3 separate regions of the Homo sapiens genome follow, and all the other regions are linked to region 2. The links are contacts of gene promoters, found by promoter capture Hi-C in blood cells and fetal thymus (Javierre and others, 2016). All regions are on one chromosome and are shown on one strand. The core of a region is centred on a gene start or on the middle of the fragment in contact, and the rest is flanking DNA. Distances in the headings are between cores, read along the strand shown. Region 1 overlaps LOC102724104 (a long non-coding RNA gene). Region 2 holds the start of XIRP1 (xin actin binding repeat containing 1). Region 3 overlaps CSRNP1 (cysteine and serine rich nuclear protein 1).

Region 1 (2,700 bases), core at 170-2,669, 57 kb before region 2:
GTCGGAGCTCTGAGGAGCTCTGAGGGCACCTTCTCACATCTGCCATTGGGCTGTCACAGAATTTAAGGATTTGCCTAATTCTGATAGAAGTGTTGAGAATAGAGCTAGTCTTATTTATTTTGAGCCCCCATCATATTCCTCCCAACATCCAGCCTGCTGGAACAAACTGTCTGCTCCCCATGCTCCCACTCTCCCCTGCTCCTCCCTCCTTCAATAAGCCTCCTGTTTTTATTATTTTCCCCCTCGTTTTCTTCCTATTTTCTTTCTTTTTAGGTCTCCTCTCAGATCTGCCCTCCAGCCACAGTCCCCTTCCAGGAAGGGGAAAGGCCACAGAGGGGTAGGCGGAGGGGAGAAATGGCATTGGGCAGGGGGGGTGGGTGATGGGTGGGGTGGGGCACCGTGTGCAGCCCTAAATGTGAGTGAGGGAAGGCCCGAGGCTGATGCCTCCATATGCCTCTGCTTCCCCACACTGAACCTTCAGGAAGTGTGGGCCAAGCAGGAGTCTCCCTCAGAACCACAGCCATCCCCCCTACTTAGAGGACCTGTGCCTGAGCTTCCACCCTGGCTTACTTCCCACAGGAGGCTAGGAAGCCCTTGCTAATCAGCATCCAGCCTTCACCTGTCAGCTCCTAAAGAGAGAAGAGAGCAGAGAAGAGAGCTGAGAAGAGAGCAGCTCTAGGAGCTTCCAACATTTGTTCCTCCTGCCCGGCACAACAAAGATCTATTTTAATTCCCTCTGCTGGCTAGTCACTAGCATAGTGGAATGACATTAATCTCCCTTGTCAGGGGGAAGCTGAGGAAGCCAATACTTCTCCTTTGAGGTTTGAGTTGCAAAACTCTTCCTCAATCTCCAGCATTATAAATCCTGTTTTTACTTTCACAGCTATGTGCAAAATCCAAATAGCACCTTTCTAAAAATGAATAGAAGAAGCCATGTCTTATTCTGAAATTAAGTTTCCGAGGCTCTAAGAGGAGAGGACTAAGAGGGGCTATTCCAGCAGGGACACTGCTACCCTTGATGGGACACGAGAGGAGCTGTGCACCCTGAAGGATGACCTGACCCCCTCCCTTCTATTTCTAATTCAAGGAACATGGCCCAGGATGAGACAGTCTAGGAAATTATGCACACCCAAAAGGGTGGCATCGTCTGGGGAAATGTCAGCATCCCAGCACAAACTGACTCAAAGAAAGGAACTACCATCTGTGTGTGTCTGCTGAATACAGGCATTGTGCTAAAGTAATCTTAGCAATGTTGTCTGCAGCCCTTTATGGCTTTTGGTGATAGGTACCCAGCCACAGGGCAGTCCTGAAAGTCTGAGAAATTAGTCACAGCATCATTCGGGTCACACCATTGTGGTGGCTGTTACCTGCAAGAGGCTAACAAAGAGGTTTTAGGGTATGACTTCAGGTTGACCAAGTCAAGTGCATGATCTTTCCTGAGTTCATTCCTGGAGAGTGTCTATGTGACGGGTTCCTGCCTCAGCCCTCCTGGCAGAGAGCCTGTTTGGCTGAGCTGTCATGGTATCCACTCTGGGTGCTCTCTTCCTGCTCTCAGTGGAGGAGGGTGGCAGTTCATCACTGAGGTGTGAGTGAGCCTCAGATGTTTACGAGGAGGAGTTTCAGGCGCATATAACTCAAAGAAAACGGCTGGTCTTTCGGAACTTGCTAGCAGACCTACCTGCCACCCAGAACTAAATTCAATGAAACTTTATTTCATCCCTTATAAAGCATCTCTCATTTTGTGGACTGGGATTGATTCCTTCAAAAGTTGCCCTTACAGATACCACATCTGCAATGGTCCAATCATAAGGGTAACCACTCTTGGTAAACTATGTACATGCTTTGCTTGAGGGCATTAAAGATCAATATGTCCATGGACTGGCCTCTTCTCAAAACCCAACCACCAGCCAGTTGCCTTTACCATAACTCTTATCCTTAAAAGCCACATCTGATGGCATGGCCATGATGGCTAAGTTGGGTGCCTGATGAATCCAGACAGAAATTTAATAGTAGGCCCAAGTTACAAGATTCCAGTTCTGGAAAGTCAGCCCACGTCCATCTGAAAGAGCCTATGGTGCAGTGGTGACAGGTGGGAGCTCCCAAGGACACTGCCTGGTTTAAATCCCAGTCATTCCACCCACCAGCTGTGAGACATTGGGCAAGCTCTTCACACTTTTTGGTCTCAGTTTCTTCCTCTGTAGAATGAGAGTGATAATAACGGCTAACTTCACAGTGTAAGAATTAAATGAATTAGTATTTGAGAACTTCTTAGACCTGGACCTGGCACATGGCACAAATTCCACGCACACTGTTTGTGGTAGTGGTGAGGGTGATCATTGTTACGTATGTCCTAGCAGTAGAAAGTGGCCCAGGCTGGGATTTGAACATAGTACCACATTACTACCCAGCCACACTCTTTCCATGAAGCTGTTTTTTGTTTTTTGTTTTTGTCTTTCTTTTCTTTCTTTTTTTTTTTTTTGAGAGGGAGTCTCACTCTGTGGCCCAGGCTGGAGTGCAGTGGCGCGATCTCGGCTCACTGCAAGCTCCGCCTCCAGGGTTCACGCCATTCTCCTGCCTCAGCCTCCCGAGTAGCTGGGACTACAGGTGCCCACCACCACGCCCGGCTAATTTTTTTGTATTTTTAGTAGAGACAGGGTTTCACCGTATTAGCCAGGATGGTCTGGGTCTCCTGACCTCGTG
Region 2 (2,700 bases), core at 28-2,527:
CAGGACTGACATTGACTACATGGAAAAAGTGAGCAATGTCTGGCATCACCCCCTGGTACCAGAGGGCATTTGGGGAGTCAGAAGGAAGACCTCATGTGCCAGGCCACAGAATGCACCTGCATACCCACAGGCATGGAGCCTGGGCCAGGCCCACCTAGGACAAAACACCTCTTTCGAGTTTTTTGCAGATGGTCCCCTGACATCCTTCACCACACTGGTCTGACTGCCAGGATCTCTTGGGCCTCCTGGGCCCCTCACGCCCTGGTAAGCAAAGGAGGAGGCAGGTGTGACCCCCCCACCCCCGCCGCCACTCCATCTGTGACTGGGAAGCTGATGACTCCAGGGTCAGAAATAACCCCACGGTCAGCTCCCTGCATGCCGCCCTTCCCCTCCCCTCCATTCCCAGAAAGCCTGGGCCCTGAGTCAGAGGGAAGAGTCGAGAAGAAAGGACTCAGATAATCTGGAATGAAAACCATAGAGTCCTGCTGTGGAATTCATTCATTGGGAGGCCGAGGCAGGTGGATTACCTGAGGTCAGGAGTTCGAGACCAGCCTGGCCAACATGGTGAAACCCCATCTCTACTAAAAATACAAAAATTAACTGGGTGTAGTGGTGCAAAGGAGGAGCTGGGCCTGGCCAATCTCGGCCCAGTGAAGAGCTGGGCCTGGTCATTCAGATGTCTTCCCCCCAAATCCAGCTTCATCGGGGCTGTGTTGACCTGTGCTGTGGGGCACAGGGTGGAATGGATAAGAAAGAAGGAACTCTTTAGTGCAGAAGGGAATGGGGAAGAAAGAGAGCTGAGCATCACACTCAGAGGTATCCAGGCTCAGAACAGAGGAGGAGGTGCCCAGCCTGCCCTCAGGAGACCTCCAGTCTCCTGGCACGGTGGGTGGAGACACGTCAGGAAGAGTCAGAGGCAGGGCCAGAGTAGAATGATGGGGGCTCACAAGACGGGAGCAAGCTGTCCAAGGTGTCAGATGCCTCTTCTTAGTCACTCTCTCAAAATAGTCTGGGACACCCCCAACCTCACAACCCAGCTGAGTCACTGACCCCAATCCCCAGATCAGACTTTGGATGAATGAAGCTTCTCCCCCTCTGTTTCCCCTCCCCAGCCCAAAGGACATGTAACTGATTCCCCAGGATGGAAGAGTGACTTCCACAAGACCTAAAAATAACCGAACCACTTAATACTCGGAACATAGCCTCTCCCACCCGCCCCCACCACGGCCCACCCACTAGCCAGCAAGATAAAGGCAGCTGCTGGGGCTGGCAGGGGACAGAGACCTGGAGCCAGGGCAGCAAGAAGGTGTCTGTTGGAGCCAGCAGAACAGAACCAATTTGAACAAGAACCTCCAGAGGAACGACGAACCCTGAGACCACAGCTGCTACAGACCACAAACACCCCATCAGCCAAGAGAGACCCTTGGTGAGTAACCTACCTCTCCATCCTTCCACAGCAAGGCTGGCTTTCACAGCTGGGATCCCCTCTCCTTCTGAAATGGACGTATTAGGAATGGCTCTGAGTAGGGGAAGGAGATTGAGGGGCATGCATGGGAGGAGGTGAGTGGAAGTCTCAGACATAAAGAACCCACAAAGGAGGTAAAGACAGTGTGAGCCCCATGGGAGCTCTCAGAGTGGCTGCCACAGGCCTGAAGCTAGCAGAAAGGATAGGCTCCTGCCAGGCTGGCATGATCCAGAAAGGCCTGGAGTTGTGATTTTTAAAATACAGGTATGGAGTGCCTCAGGCTTCAGGGCTTCCTCCCAGGGAAGCTTCAGGCAGGCCCAGGATCTGGAGGAAGGAGGAACAGGAGAGAGGTGGGGGCAGGGGGCTGTAAGTAGGCCTGAGTGTGCATTGCTAGAACAAGCCCCATGCCTAGTTGTTGTGGATGACACTCTTGGCATATCTGGCCCAGGGATAGCTCCCAGGGGCTGGCCGGAGCCCAGCTCCCTACATATCATAGCCTAAAACCTGGGGTGGAATTCGGACTCTGCCCATGTCCATAGTCTTGCCCAGTGGGAAAGCCCCCAGGGCAGATTTGGGGGGCTCACGGGAGGGAGACCAGATCTGAATTTGCCCAGATGTAAAGACATATGGAGCCAGCTGGGCCAAGGAGGAGGTGACCCGAGGACAGCAGGGGGACCATCCTGAGAGGCTGGCCCAGCCCTAGGAGACCAAGCTCTAGGACAGTTCTTGGGGCTCACCCCACGTAAGTCTGGTCCCAGTTATGAATTCTGTCCTGACTCTACACTTGTCCCAGCAGTCTCAAGCCAGGCAAAGATGGTGGTGGGAAGGCCAGGAGTCAGGAGACATGCTTCAGGCTTTGCTACTGCCTTGCTGAGCCTCCTTGGACAGCTCCTTTCCCCTCTTTGGGCCTCTGTTTCCCTATTTGAACAATAAGGGGTTTAGATTGAGTGACCTCTGAGGGTCCTTAGGCCTGACATCCCTGGACTCCATGATAATAACTGTCTGTGGCCTTAGCAGAGATTCTGGAAATTCCTGGGGGCGGGGGTGGGGTGAAGCTGATGGTGTGCACACACCATCTGCTCAGGCCACCCTGGTGGTGACAGGATGGAGTAGAGGTGGAGACAGGCTCAGGTTTGCCTTGGGCAGGGGATCCTCATTGGAGCTCAGAAATGAAAGAAAACCACCCAGAGCTTTGATGAGACTCAGGCTGCAGGTTTCAGAGCTCACATTCCCCA
Region 3 (2,700 bases), core at 7-2,506, 51 kb after region 2:
GGTGTCTGACAGCCTGGACAACATCGAGGCACCTCACTTCCCCCTGCCTGGCCTGTCTCCACCTGGGGATGCCAGCAGTTGCTTCCTGGAGTCCCTCATGGGCTTCTCCGAGCCAGCCGCCGAAGCCCTAGATCCCTTTATTGACAGCCAGTTTGAGGACACTGTCCCAGCATCTCTAATGGAGCCTGTGCCGGTGTGAGGACCAGGATGTCTTTTCCCAGCCCCAAGAGACCTGTTGCTGCTTTCTTGTAATTATGGGGCTCCCCAGAGTCTGCGTAACAGTCTCCCACTGGCTGGCTCACCCACAGGTGCCATGTGCACACTCCTGGTTTTCAAACAATTCTCTGGATTTATTTATTTGTTTTAACTTTTCTGTGCTGAAGAGAGGACTGGGGGGAGGGGGCTTCCCCTTTCAGCTGCCCGGCCCCCCACACCCACAGCTTGCTCTTCTATCTCCACAACGTGAGCCTGGAAGAGGAGAAAATGTGGCTCCTCTGGAGCTTGGCAGACCACTTTTCGGTCTTTGCGTGATGTTCCTTAGCCCAAAGACGGTGAGACAGGGCTGAAATCAGGTGGCTTCTGCCACCCTGAGCCCTAGACCCATGGGTGGCTAAATCCACTGGACTGTGAAGACTATAATTTATTTCCATAATTTATTTGGAGATTGAGGAGGCTTTGGTTGCACTTCTTTGGCTGGTGGGTAATGCCAGGGGTGGGGTGGGCACAGGCCCTCAAGAGCCCCTTTTGCCTTGTAGTCCTACACCTTGCCCTGCCTGGGCTTTGGTGCAGACTAGGTGTGGATTTGAGCTCTGTGATCTATGTCTGCTGCCTGGCTCCTAGATGGCTCTGTGGGCAGGTGCTGGCCAAGGACATCATCTAGGCAGGGGGAGAGCCTGGGCTGAACAGCTGTGACCAAAACTCCCTTCTGCCCCACCCTGCCCCCTCCACTTCCTGCCCTCTGTTCCATCTTCCCCCTTCCCAAAGGCCACAGCCTTTATTCCAGGCCCAGGGATGTAGGAGGGGGAAGGAGGAAACAGGAAGCCCAGAGAGGGCAAAGGGCCTACCTCGGGGCGCGAACCATGCCCCAGACTATTATCTCAGGGCTTTCTGGGCACTGCACTTCAGCGTGGCCCACCTGCCCATGCCCTGAGGCCAGTTGGCGAGGGGTGGCTCCTGAGGGTTTTTATACCCTTTGTTTGCTAATGTTTAATTTTGCATCATAATTTCTACATTGTCCCTGAGTGTCAGAACTATAATTTATTCCATTTCTCTCTGTGTCTGTGCCAAGAAACGCAGGCTCTGGGCCTGCCCCTTGCCCAGGAGGCCTTGCCAGCCTGTGTGCTTGTGGGAACACCTTGTACCTGAGCTTACAGGTACCAATAAAGAGGCTTTATTTTTAGCAATGTGGTATGTATTTGTGGGGTGGGAAGCAGGGGCAAAGGGGATGGGGGACAAGCCCTGCAGAGGGGAGTATGGACACAGGCTGTGTTGAGGGGTAGGAGTAGGCACACCCAGCATATTGGGCCTCTTTCCAGGCAAGCCAGTCAAGTTGGAGGCAGGAAGCCAGCTGAGAGGCTGGCCAGGCAGATAGAGCAGTTTTTCCTTTGGAGTAACCTGTTCCTCTACAGTGGTGACCTGGGGTGGTGGGGAGGAGCAGCACCAGGGTCTTCTGACATGGGGCTATCTGCTGGGGATGGGTAAGGGCACCCTTCTTCCTACACACCCACACTGAGCTGAGGCCTTGTCCTGAGGGTGAATTCACCAACCTGGGTGGAGGCAGGGTAAGGGCATGTGCCTGGTCAAGGCCTGGTGATGGCCTTACGTAGCAGCTGTGGTCCCTGGGGACTTGAGCAGGGGGGCAGCGGAAAGGGCAGGGGGAAGCTGCAGAACCTCATCCCTCTGCACCAGCCAGACCTGTCTGACCTGTCCCTGGCAGCTCAGCTGGGCAGCAGGCCAGAGGAGTAGGCCACACCCTGCTCTGGGGAGCCCCAGTCTGGGGGCCTGAGAAAGGTTGACTTCCCCCTTAGGAATGATAGTGATTTGTACAAGAGCTGGAAGGAGGAACCGCCAGAGGAGAACTGATTTGGGTCTCCTTGCTCTAATTCTCTGCCTTGGTCTGTACTGGGCTCACTCATCTCTTTGGCTTAACTGGTAAGAGCACAGAGCCAGAATGCTGGGCTTGAATCTCAGATTTTCTGCTACCTAGTGAGGTGATTTGTGCAAATTACTCCCTCTGTGCCTGGGTGTCCTCAATACTACATGCAAACAGTAACACTACTCACCTCATAAACTTGTTTATTTCATATTTACAAAGCCCTTAAAGAGTGCCTGGAACATGCAAGTCCTGTGTATGTTTGCAACTTGCATTGATTTTCATGTTTCTGCCATTCTTTCTCTGAATGTTTAATCCTTTTTTTGCCTGTCCTGTCACCCTTCAGGTATCTGTCTCTTGCCTCTGGACATGCATGGTCATGACCACATGGCCATATCAGTGCCATTAGAGGACTCATAGTTTGGAGTCTGGCCTATGGTGCGGCAGTATGTCCCTGTAACCAGCTTAACTAGGAATAGGCTTCTCAGGTTAGAGTACCCTGGTACATTGAGTTGTCCTGTCTCTTCTTCACTGGTGCCTAGACACCCTTCTGTAGCGATTACTTCAGCAAGCACAATCCAAAACCTGGGTTCTTCAAGGGTTCCCAG

Evidence for each region. The method cuts DNA at HindIII sites, captures the fragments that hold promoters and counts their contacts. A CHiCAGO score of 5 or more calls a contact.
Region 1: a contact is called between a fragment that was not itself captured here and the fragment with the promoter of XIRP1 in region 2, in 2 of 17 cell types (total B cells and naive B cells). The highest score is 5.6, in total B cells.
Region 3: a fragment that was not itself captured here is called in contact with the fragment with the promoter of XIRP1 in region 2 in 1 of 17 cell types (activated CD4 T cells); the score reaches 7.9 in activated CD4 T cells.

What each region holds. Positions count from the first base shown.
Region 1 is chr3:39,248,368-39,251,067 of GRCh38, reverse strand. The region is part of intron 2 of LOC102724104 (a long non-coding RNA gene); the gene reads right to left. Among named protein-coding and RNA genes, the nearest start is that of CX3CR1, 30 kb to the left of the region's middle. The HindIII fragment of the contact is 9,853 bases long and covers 1-2,700 here.
Region 2 is chr3:39,191,172-39,193,871 of GRCh38, reverse strand. It overlaps XIRP1 (xin actin binding repeat containing 1), which reads left to right and starts at 1,277. Exons shown (of 2, transcript NM_194293.4): 1 at 1,277-1,426. RefSeq lists an enhancer at 1,517-2,506. The HindIII fragment of the contact is 686 bases long and covers 1,087-1,772 here.
Region 3 is chr3:39,140,554-39,143,253 of GRCh38, reverse strand. CSRNP1 (cysteine and serine rich nuclear protein 1) reads left to right here. Exons shown (of 5, transcript NM_033027.4): 5 at 1-1,399. The coding sequence ends at 199. Among named protein-coding and RNA genes, the nearest start is that of MIR6822, 3.7 kb to the right of the region's middle. The HindIII fragment of the contact is 8,062 bases long and covers 1-2,700 here.